Regions from separate parts of the Homo sapiens genome. Here region 1 is linked to region 2. The links are contacts of gene promoters, found by promoter capture Hi-C in blood cells and fetal thymus (Javierre and others, 2016). All regions are on one chromosome and are shown on one strand. Each heading gives the region's core, a stretch centred on a gene start or on the middle of the fragment in contact. The rest is flanking DNA. Distances are from core to core; before and after follow the strand shown.

The links. The method cuts DNA at HindIII sites, captures the fragments that hold promoters and counts their contacts. A CHiCAGO score of 5 or more calls a contact.
Region 1: a contact is called between a fragment that was not itself captured here and the fragment with the promoter of TMEM215 in region 2, in 2 of 17 cell types (M2 macrophages and M0 macrophages). The highest score is 7.2, in M2 macrophages.

What each region holds. Positions count from the first base shown.
Region 1 is chr9:32,635,834-32,641,919 of GRCh38, reverse strand. No RefSeq gene overlaps it. Among named protein-coding and RNA genes, the nearest start is that of TAF1L, 3.2 kb to the right of the region's middle. The HindIII fragment of the contact is 1,256 bases long and covers 937-2,192 here.
Region 2 is chr9:32,781,529-32,787,576 of GRCh38, reverse strand. TMEM215 (transmembrane protein 215) reads right to left here and starts at 4,037. Exons shown (of 2, transcript NM_212558.3): 1 at 3,772-4,037; 2 at 1-3,451. The coding sequence starts at 3,393. The coding sequence ends at 2,686. LOC105376017 (a long non-coding RNA gene) reads left to right here and starts at 4,671. Exons shown (of 7, transcript XR_929559.2): 1 at 4,671-4,934. The HindIII fragment of the contact is 4,873 bases long and covers 2,223-6,048 here.

The DNA of each region.
Region 1 (6,086 bases), core at 315-2,814, 140 kb after region 2:
AATGAAAAATAAAAAATAATCTAGAAGTCAAAGGGTACAAAGCTATTTCTGAGACTAAAGAAATAATACTGCAAATAAAGTGACAAACTGTTGAGCATTTTTCACGGCAGGGGTGGGGAGATACTTCTGTCTATCAAGTTGATACCAAAGAAGGCTGTTATTTGCTGTTGCCCAGAGGGTCCCATTATAATTCTTTTTCTTAAATTTTACTCAAAAGAACAAATGTCATTTTAATGCCAATGTTTTCAAATGCTGTTTATTCCTTAGATTTACTTTTCTAAAATTTGGCCTCACTATTGCTCAATCCATGGCTTTACTTGCACTTTCAGCAACTGTTGGTTGACAACACCCCCTCCCCTCCCCTCCCCTCCCCTCCCGTTCCCTCCCCTCCTATCCTGTCCCCTCCCTTCCCCTCCTGTCCCCTCCCCTTCCCTTCCCTTTTCTTTGAGACGGAGTCTCTCGCACTGTCGCCCAGGCTGGAGTGCAGTGGCACGATCTCAGCTCACTGAAAGCTCCGCCTCCTGGGTTCACACCATTCTCCTGCCTCAGCCTCCCAAGTAGCTGGGACTACAGGTGCCTGCCACCACGCCCGGCTAATTTTTTTTTTGTATTTTTAGTAGAGACAGGGTTTCACTGTAGCCAGGATGGTCTTGATCTCTTGACCTCGTGATCTGCCCGCCTTGGCCTCCCAAAGTGCTGGGATTACAGGCGTGAGCCACTGCCCCCGGCCAGACCACGCTTCATTTTTTAATCACTTTCTTCACTTGGCTTGAAGCATCACTTTCTCTTCGTTCTCCTTCTATGCCACTGGCTGTTCAGGTCCTTCTTATCTACTGATTGCTGAGTATTAGAACACTGCAGAGTTTAGCCCTAAAATCTTTTTATTTCTTTGTCTTTACTTACTCCTTAGGTAACACCATTCACAGTCCCTAAGCTTTGAAAGCATTTATATACCAATGAGCCTCAAATTTATAATTCTAGCCCTGACCTATTTTCCTAACTTGTAGACTTGTACTCGGCCTCTACTGAAATCTCCAGTTGAAATCTATCTAATAGGGAATCTTAAAATTAACCTGTCCAAAATCAAACTCCTGACTCTCCACTAACATCCCCCATGTCTCTGCTGTTGTCTTCTCTTTATACAGTCTTCTACATCTCAGGAAATGGTTTCTCTGTCCGTCTAGTTGCCCAGGCTAAAACCTTATCTCCTGTCTTTCTCTGACACCACATATCCAGTTCATCAGTAAATCCTGTTGACTTTACCTTCAAAATACTATGTATTAAAAATCTGAACACTTTCACCACCTCTGTTGCTACTATCTTGGTCCATGCTTCCGTCGTATCTCACTCTCTCACCAGAATTATTTTAATAACTTCCCAGCTGGACCCACTTCTTCTTTTACCTCATTACAATCAGTTTTCAACATAGAGGCCAGAGTTATCTATTTCAAATGCAGGTAAGATCAAGTCATTCTTTTGCTCAAAACTTTTAATGGCTCCTTCTTTCACTCACAGTAAAATTCTGAAACAGTAATGACCTGCAAGGCCCTATATAATTTTGCCCTCAGCTACCCCCTCACCTCATCATTTTATCTCTTGCCACCTACCCTCTTGCACACACACTGCCCCCAAAGTTACATAGAACAATTACCTCTCTCACTTTTCATAGCTATTCACTCAAATGTCATAATTTCAGAAGGATCTTCCCTGACAACTTTTTCCCTCACCCATGGCATTCCTATCTCCCTTATTCTGCCTTAGTTTTCGCAATAGCACTTATCACCACCTGACATAATATGTATTTACTTGTTTATTTATTTTTGGTCTCCCCCATTAAGATATTAGCCCATATTCCAGATTCCAGGGCTAGCAGAGCAGATGATTTCAATCAAATCTCCCACTTGAAGACAATTTTAAAAGTGGAACAAAACACACACACAGACACACACTTTCTTACAAACATTAGAATCTAACAAGATAGTAAGGAATTAAGACAACAATTAGAGCTCAAAGAGGTGAAACAACATCTCTTTGGAAAGGAGGATTTGCTGATAGTTAAAAGGAAGCTGAGGCAGAGCTTCACTGAGATCTTGGGAAATCACCCACTGTGTATCCTGGAACCACAAGGCCTGCCATTTTGGCTTTGAGGCTTTTTGGCAATGGACTGGAAGCAGCAGACACAGAGCTAAGCTTTTGATTACTCAGATGCATGCAAGTTTAGGAACTGGTGTTCATCTCCCTCAAAGACAGAGGCCCTAATATAGTATCTTTTGCTCTGGCTTGAGACAAAGACTGCAACCTGGAAGCATGGTTTATGGATTTTACTCTAGCCTGCCAAACCCTCAAATATTGGTTCCAGACTGCTAATATACTCAGGTGTCTTAAAGGTGAAAAAAAGTAAAATCCTTTGTGAAGGAAAATAACACCATCCTGGGTCTCAAACTATCAATAAATATAATTTTAATTTTTTTACCAAGCTATGAAAGACTATAATGCAAAATGAGACTCAAGACAAATCAAGCCAGAACTAAGGAAAACAGTGGACAACAAAAACAAGAGCTACAAGAGTCCAAATACCAGAATTATCAGACGGATGTTGTAAAACAACAGTACTAATATGCTCATGGATATAAATGCTTTGTTTAAAAATATCAGTGCAGTCATAGAAACCATAAGAGGTGACCTTGTAAAACTAAAAAAGAACCAACTAGAAATTATAAAATTGAAAAATACAATAGGTAAAATGAAGAGCTGAATGGATGGGTTTAACAGAGGATTACATAAAATTGAAGAAAAAAATTGTAAACTGGAAGCTGGGTCAGAGAAAAATATACAGAATGAAACCTAAAGAAAATTTTTAAAAGGGAAAGTACAGAATATTGACTAAGAAACATAGAGGATAAAGTAAGGTCTAACATTCACATAACTGGAGTATAAAAAAGAAAAAGATAAAATGGAGCAGGGGCAATATTTTAAGAGATAATGTCAAAGAATTTCAGAGAACTAATGAAAGACATTCAATTTTACTATTTAATAAGCCTAAAGGGTCAAATGAAGCTAAAAGAATAAAAAGAGAAATTTGCCTCCAGGCCAGGCACAGTGGCTCATGCCTGTAATCCCTGCACTTTGGGAGGCCGAGGTGGACAGAGTACTTGAGGTCAGGAATTCGAGACCAGCCTGGCATGGTGGCACATGCCTGTGGTCCCAGCTACTAGGGAGGCTGAGGCAGGAGAACTGCTTGAACCCCGTGGGTGAAGGTTGCAGTGAGCCAAGATTGTACCACTGCACTCCAGCCTGGGTGACAGAGTGAGACTCTGTCTAAAAACAAAAAAAGAAAAGAAAGAAAGAAAAAAAAGAAAATAAATCTGCCTCCAGAAACATGTAGTGAAACTGTAGAAAATGAAATGCAAGGAGAAAATCTTAAATATAACAAAAGGAAAAGGACAGATTACCAACAAAAAAGCACCAATCTGATCAACAGCTGATGCGAAAAGCCAGTACAAGTGAAAACCAGAGGTCAATGGAAAGATAACTTCATGATATTGAAAGAAATAAAAAACTACCAACATAGACTTCTTTGTCCAGAGAACAAATATTTTAATAAGAAAGGTAAAATATACAGTGATATGAAAAAATAAGTGATGAACTGGCAAAATACTTTCAATTTATATTACAGAAAGGGTAAATATCCCTAACATATTAAAATCTTATTTAAAAAGAGGAGAAAGGACTAACAACCTTAGAAAAATGAATAAGAGATATGAACAAATACACAGGAAAAATAAATGCAAATTCCCCTTGGTTGAAAAGATACTCCATGTCATCCATGATAAGATAAATGAAATTAAAACTACAGCGAGATACTGTCTTATACCTATGAGATCAGCAAAAATTCAAAAATTTGACAGCATGCTATGTTGTTGAGGCTTGGGGAAACTGTCCCTCTCATTCATTGCTGTTAGGAATGAAAAATGGTTCAACAACTAAGGAATAGAACTTGGCAAATACCGATGAAATAATATCTGCATTTACTCTTTGACCCACTAGTCCCTCTTGCAGGAATCTATCCCAAAGATGTGCTGACCAAAAAAAAAAAAAAAAAAAAAAAAAGGATGCATACATAAGACTTTTCACTGCAGCACTGTGTGAAATAGCAAAGCCTGGAAACAACTCAAATACCTGTCAATGGGTGGCTGGTATACTCACCCAAGTGATAACTCTACAGTTATCAAAAATAAGAAGGAATCTCTTTATAAACTACTACAGAGTAATCTCCAAGATATATTTTTAAGCAAGAAAAGCAAGGTGGAAAAGTAAATACTATTGGTTATCTAAAAGGAAGAGATAAAAACATGCATACACAATTGATAGTATTTAAAAATAGAATGATAAATAATAACACTTTAAATATGATTACTTATAGAGGATTACATAAACAACCACCCAAGATAATCTGCAATCAAATTGTGAAAATCATTAAGACAGTTGACTAGACTAGTCCCAGCTACTTGGGGAGGCTGAGGCAGAAGAATCACTTGAACCTGGAGACAGAGGTTGCAGTGAGCCAAGATCGCGCCACTGCACTCCAGCCTGGGCAACAGAGCAAGACTGTCTCAAAAAAAAAAAAAAAGCATAAAGGAAAAATTTGATAAGATTGAAATTTTAAAATATATATTAAAGACACCATTAAAATAGATTAAAAGACATGTCACAGACTGGGGAAGTTATTTGCAAGCAAATCCATAATATATGAAGAACTGTTATACATTAAAGAAAAGACAGATAACCTAAAGATACTATAAAAATTAGATAAAAATATATGAAAAGGCAATTGACAGAAGAGGAAAAACAGTTGGTCAATAAGTGTATGAAAAGTTAGCCTTCAGTAGCAATCAGAAAAATACAAATTAAAACCACATTATCATTATACATTTATTAGAAATGAACAAAAATTAACAAATGACAATGCTAAGTGTTAGAATGGATGTGGAGAGGTGAGAACTTTTATACACTGCTGTTAGGTATGTAAAATGGTACAACTACTTTGGAGAACAATTTAGTAATAGCAAGTGTAGTTGAAAAAGCATATATTGTAAAATCTAGTAATTCCACTCCTAGATGTATACCCTGGAGAATGTGTCCTACATATGCTCAAGGAATCATATACATTATTTATAAGAGGAACAATTTGGGAACAATTTAAATGAACAAACATAGGAACATAGATAAATTGTAGCATAACCATACTGTAGAACACTATAGAGCTATAAAAATAGAATTGAATGCATCAACATAGTTGAATATCATAAACATAAATTTTATCCAGAAAACATTCTGGCTAAGAGTACATACAGTAAGGTCGGGTTTGGTGGCTCTTGCCTGTAATCTCAGCACTTTGGGAGGCCAAAGTGGGAGGATTGCTTGAGGCCAGGAGGAGTTTAAGACCAGCTTGGCTAACATAGTGAGATCCCATCTCTTAAAAAAAAGGAAGGGGGAAAAAAAAAACGAGTACACACAGTAAGATGCCTTTTATACAAAATTGTAAAGCATGACAATGCTATAGATTATTTGGAGAAGCATACATATGCAGTTCATGTATAAAGAGATTTACAGAGGCTGGGTGCAGTGGCTCACGCCTGTAATCCCAGCACTTTCGGAGACAGAGACGGGCTGACCATCTGAGGTCAGGAGTTTAAGACTAGCCTGGCCAATATGGTGAAATCTTGTCTCCACTAAAAATACAAAAAATTAGCCAGGCATGGTGGCTCATGCCTGTAATCCCAGCTACTGTGGAGGCTGAGGCAGGAATCTCTTGAACTCCTGAGGTGGAGGTTTCAGTGAGCCGAGATTGTGCCACTGCACGCCAGCCTGGGGCGACAGAGCAAGACTTTGTCTCAAAAACCAGCAAACAGGCTGGGCGCGGTGGCTTACGCCTGTAATCCCAGCACTTTGGGAGGCCGAGGCAGGCGGTTCACGAGGTCAGGAGATCGAGAGGCTAACATGGTGAAACCCCGTCTCTACTGAAAATACAAAAAAAAAAAAATTAGCCAGGCGTGGTGGCGAGCGCCTGTAGTCCCAGCTACTCA
Region 2 (6,048 bases), core at 2,788-5,287:
TGTATATATATTTTTTGACTTTGGAAGTTTAACTCTGAATAGTACTTACAAGTATTGATTTGGGGCACCAGGTTACCTTGTTGCATATAGAAAGGAGTTGGTTAATATGTTAGGAGAAATTCACACACACAATCATACATTTTATTCTCACTGGTCAAAGTTAAAACCTCTCACACCAACATTTGCAAACCTTTATTTTAGCACAGGAAAATATTTCCTCAAATGCATACTTAAATACCTTAAGTATCTTAAGTAGGTAATGGGAGAAGAAACATGAAATAGGTTTTCTTCTGAAGTAGAACTTGAAAACAAGATAAAATACCTTATATCTCTAAACTAGTAGTTGACCCTCAATTTGGAAAGAGACAGAATGATATAAAGGAGTTTTAAATGGTTCCAAGAAATCAGAAAAGTAACTTTTCCAACCCCCAAACCATACCTGACACTGCAAGCATCTTCTTTCAGAAAATTGCAGCATTATTGTCTAAGATTTGCTGAGTCTCTGTGAACATCTCTCTGTCTCACTATCTCCTCATCTCTAACGGTGGCAAACTTCTTAAAGGAAGTTTTCATTCCTAAAGAGTTATTGCATAGTTCTCACCATTATAAAAATATGATTCTCTGTTTTCAAAATGCATTACAATTATTAAAAGTTACTGTGATTTTAGGAAACTATCTCTCCCCATCCCAAATCCAAATGTCAATCACATTTAGTGCAAGGTTGTGTATTAGATTACTTTGAGTTATACCAACATTTTAAGTTTTCTCCTCAAAAATATTTTACTCTGATTATGTTCATTTTATTCTCAGGAATGCATTGTGTTGAATAATCTGCTTTCATACATCTACAAAATTCTTTTTTGAGTAGTAGCTGTGCAATGTATGTCACATAATTATCATAAATTTCATAACTTTGGCATGCATTTTGCTGTAACTCATTTCCTGGCAATATATAAAATGCCTTTGACATAACACCATAGAATATTTACACTGAAAATGAATGATAGAAATAATCAAGTGTAAATCAGTTCCCCCTCCCTTCACAGAGTAGGAAACTCAGGTGTAAGAAGATAAAATTTGCCCAAGATCATGCATCTCATTTCTGATATTTAAGCCCTACTAAAATAATTACATATTTTTGATCTTGAACTTGACTTGAAAATTATGATTTTTTAAAAATACCATGATTCTTAAGACAGAACAATTGCTATACTTAAGAAAGAATTGCAGAGTTGGAATTGAAATACACAAAACATATATGCCCAAATTTTTGTCCTCAATTCCCCTTTTGGGAGAAAGTGACTAAGACTATATGATCACTTAAAATGATCATTCTTTGAAGGATACAAAATACTTCTGATCTTCAAGATGAACTCTATCACCATTCCTATATATAATTCATATTTTTCTTCACCGGGGATCAAATGGCATTCTGCTTGATAGCCTTCTTATCTATTGCAGTTGAGCAAGTGAAATAGAAAGCACATTTTAGGATATCATTGTGATTTGTTGTTTTCCTCAGCAGCAAAAATGTATGAAATAAAGAGACTTTTATCATGTAATGTTCACTGATCAGGTGAGCTTAATAAAATCTAGGCTTCAGTTAAATTTAGTAGATGAGTTCTTGTTTCACTGGCATTTACAGTCTGTGAGAGGAGTTGAACAAATGTACAAATAATGACACTTCCAAAGGTTTAACCATTGCATTTCATACAAATTATGTGCAATGTTCAAGGCTAATGTGTAGACTTTATAGTTTTCAGATTTTAAAAGGTATGTAGGAATGGTAATTATCAGTACATGTCTGCCAATGTTAAAGACTTGGATATATATGTAAAATTCATTTTGTCTTGATGAAAACAAATTCCAATCTATGAAAGTATCATTTCAAATAATGTTGCACCTGGTAAGGAAATAATACATGAATGATAGTAAATGTTTAGAAAAAACCCATTTCAGATAAAGATGCAATAAATGGATTTAAACGAAGAGTTTAAGAAGTAACATAGCCATCTAAAAATGTTAACTTTTCACATAGCTGCTCACACTTATTTTACTTTATTAGAGACCATGATCTTGTCAGACAATAATGCCACAAGACTCAGTTACATAATCCAACTCTCTTTAACTACCCTTTTCCCAAAAACCATCCCATCTAAGGAGGGTTTAACTCTTGTATCTTGATTTTTTTTTCTTTCAGCAAATACCAAGTGTGATAAGCTTTTAACCAGGCAAAAATTACTTTATATAACGGATCATTAATTTTATTTTCAACTTATTCAAACATAAAGCAGCTCAGTTTCCCTGTGGTCAGCTCATGCATCATTTGATGCCTCACATCTGCAGCCCACTCTAGATTTATCTTGCTCTCAGCTGGTTCTGGATAGCACTTTTTGGGTTATTTTACAAAACATTTAACATTGTGTAAATTGTTAAGAAGCAACTGGAGTAGCTTCCTTTCCTACCCACTGCCTCTTCCAGTGTCCTTAACCCTCATCGCCCTTCCCTAAAATGTGTCCCCAACATGCCTATTTACATGACTCTCGGGTACCAGAGGTTATCACACCCATCACATACCAGGTCAATTTCTAACAGTGTGAAGGCTCTCCAAGCAGAGCAATTTGCTTCCACGGGGAGCTGGGCTTAGTCATATTCTATCAATCCAGCCACCTTTGTAGGCAGAGATTAGACGATGGTCTCGTGGTCCCACCTGCCTTGTATCTGATTGATATAACAACAGTATCTGTCATACGGGCTGTTCTGCTTGTAGGAGCAAACGATGATACTGTCCTGGGGCACAAAGAAGATGCTATCCTCAGGCTCAGGGCACTCAGATCTGTCCCTTGCTGAGCACTTGACGTCCAAGGCACTGTAGGTGAGGGAACTGCCCGAGGGGCAGTAGCCGTCCAGGTATCTGGACGTCTCCTCCTGATGCCCATTCTGGACGAGGCTCTGGCATTCTCCTTCCTCCGTGGGTGTGGGGCTGTTGATGGAGCTGGCCACGGACACCTCACCCTGGCTTTGTGGGGGAGGCTTCCCCCTGAGGCCCGCCTTCTTAGCCAGCTCATCTGAGCTCCCCTTGCCGGATTCTAGGTCTGAAGGGGTCCTCAGCAGCTCTACCACCTCCTTGTCTTTGGGTTTCCGGAAGCAGGGCAATTTGCGGACCCACAGCAGCTCGTTCTCTGGCCACTTGGTGCATCCCTCGGTTTTCCTGGCCAGGGCAATGGCTGCGATGCCTGGTAGGCAGATGGCTGGCCCGATGGCCAGGAGGGGGATGTTTCCCAAAGTCTCCCCTTTCATCCCAGAGACGGTGAACATGAAACCAAAGACGAGGAAGACACTGACCAGGGCCACCACCAGCCCAGTCCTCGGGTTAATGTCATCAGGCCGCATGTTTCACTCCATCCAGGTTGGGGGCTGCTTGCTGACCAGGGAGCAGCGTTCCTCTATTCTGTCAGAGATGAAACCACAGTGCGTTAAAAAAAAATCCAAGTCAAGCTCCCACCCATCAACTCTTGTCTTTCTCTTGCCCTTTGTCTCCGACTTGCTTCTTGACTTTCAGTCTTGATCTCTGTCTCTGTATCTCTCTTGCAATCTCTCTATCTCTCTCTCTGCGTTTCTCTTGCAATCTCTCCCTGTTTCTATTTCTACTCTTTCTCTCCGTCCCCTCTCCCTCCCTCCCTTTCTTGTGCCCTCCCTCTCTTCCTCTCACTATTGCAACCTCCGTCTCTCTCTCATATCAACACGCTCCGGCTGGGGTCAACGAGGTACCTGAGGTTTCCTGCCCTCTCCAGGAAGTAGGGAAAGAAGCCAGGCTGTCTCCTCAGAAGCCCCCACAGCAGCTGCCCCCTCGGCTCGCTCCCTTGGTTCTGGGAGGAAAGCCTGGTTTCCCCCACGGACTCTGCATCGGGGAGGTGGAACCTGGGAGAGCGGCTCTCCCAGCAGTGCCCGTCGGTCCCGGTGCTGTGCAAGCGGAGCCCGGCGCCAGCTCAGCGCGCAGAGCGCGGGGCGCGGGAGGAGGAGGGAGCACTGAGTCTGGGAAAGAGGGGACGCGGCGCGAGCCTGGCCTTGTTACATCACTGTCAGAGCAGGCTCAGAAACGCAGACAGACGCGCGGGGGCGCGAGGGGGTCAGCCCCAGAGGGAGGCCACCCGGCGGCAGGCGCTGCCCGGGGTCTCGTCGGGGCTGCTGGGAGCGGCCGGGGTTTGTGCCGCCGCCGTTCCGGAGGCTGAGCAGGGCGACCTGACCCGCTTCCGTGCCCGGGAAGGGTCTGGGGCGCGAGGCTGCCAGTGGCCGGAGTCGGAAACCAGGGTCGGTTTGCCCACGGGGCAGCCGTTGCAATATCCGAGCTCGGGCTCCCAGTCCGGGATCCGAGGAGTTAGGTGCCAGCTGGAGATGTCCCTCCGGGACCCGCACCCTTCTCCAGTTACAAATCCGGGTGACTGACGGCAGGCCCAGGGGCTCCCCGACCGCCCTTCTCTCAACCCCTCGACTCGGGGCGCGGGGGGGTGTGTGTCCCTCGGGGAGCCGGTGCCCGAGGACTGCTTTGGTCCCGGCTCTGGGCGGTGGCGGCGCGCGAAAGCGCTCTTGCAGCGGAGCGACTGCGCCGCGGGAGCGCACAGAACCAGCGCCCAGGCGGAGTGGGTTAGTGGTGAGGGGTGGGTGCCAGGCTAGTCCGGGCCTTGGGGGAGTCCCCGGAGTCCCCGTGGCTTTCCAGCTCCAGGCTCGGGAGAGGGTGACCTTGGAGCCGGGATTTCACTTCTACAGCGCTGTGGTGCCGGGGGGACAGGGAGAAGGGCTCCCTGGCCCCCAGTTCACGAGGAGAAGGGGCCTTGACCGGTCAGGACCACCACCCTACGACGCCGCTCAGCTCTGGGCGATTCTCTCCTCCCTTGCTGAAGCAGGCATTGAGAGCCTGCGTTCCTCCCGCTCTGGTAGGCAGGGGCAGATGGATTCCTCTGGCCCCGGGGGGCAAGACTGGCTTTGGCTGTGATTCTTCAACAGGGCTGCCCATTTAGGATAGAGGAGGGCGGTGGAGAACAGGTTGATGAGCGGTACATGCTTTCATGTCAAGACACTGATTTACTGGAAAGAATTTTCACATCCAGGCCTTCCCCAGTTAAACTAGCTGTATATTCCTGGGCAAGTGACTTAACCTCTCTGAGAATCAGTCGTCCTATCTGTAAAATGAGATTAATACCAAATATATGAGGAAACATTGTGAGGATTAAATAAACGTAAAGTTCCTAGCACAATGCTTGGTACATAGTCTGTGTACAAAAATTACACACACATGCACACACGTACACATGTATATGTATATATATTTGTCATCATAATTAGTGTCTTCATCATGTATGACAGGAGCCAAACAAATCATAAAGGCTGTGAGACTAAGGACTTTTTATCCACTAGGCAATGAAGAACGCTTGATGTATTTTAAGCAAAGATCAATACAAAAACATTCCAGTTTGACTGAAAGGGGCGGCAGGTGAGAGCATAGGTTGGAGCTGGTAAGTCTGGAAGCCGGGAGTCTTGTTCAGTAAGCTGAGAAGTTCAGTAAGCCGGGCAAGACATGATGTGGCCTTAACAATGTCGGGCTGGTAGAGGAGTTGGAAGGAAGCAGATCTGAGGGTATTTAAGGGTTGAGTGAAGTGTCTTGGAGCACAGTGAAGTGAGATGAAGGGAGGAGCCAAGGTCAACTCCCAACTTTCTCACTTTCAAAGGGGTGGATCAGGAAGCAGATCCTTCTCATTTTCCTCTCCATCATCTATTTTGTATCTTTTGTACTCATGACCATTAGACAGCTGCTGCACCTTTAGGCATAGAATCATTTAGGAGGGAAGAAAGGAGAAAATGCAAAGGGTAAAAGTGAGGTGCCAGTTCTTTGGCCACTTGTATGAGGACAATAATAATTTTCCTGGCAGCCCCCCCAAGTAGATAGGCATCTGCCTGTAATTGACCAGAGATGGATGAGCTTTGGGATACAAAGGTACCTGGGAAATTGTTGTTTATTTATTTACCAGATCCACTGATGGTCTGAAAAAA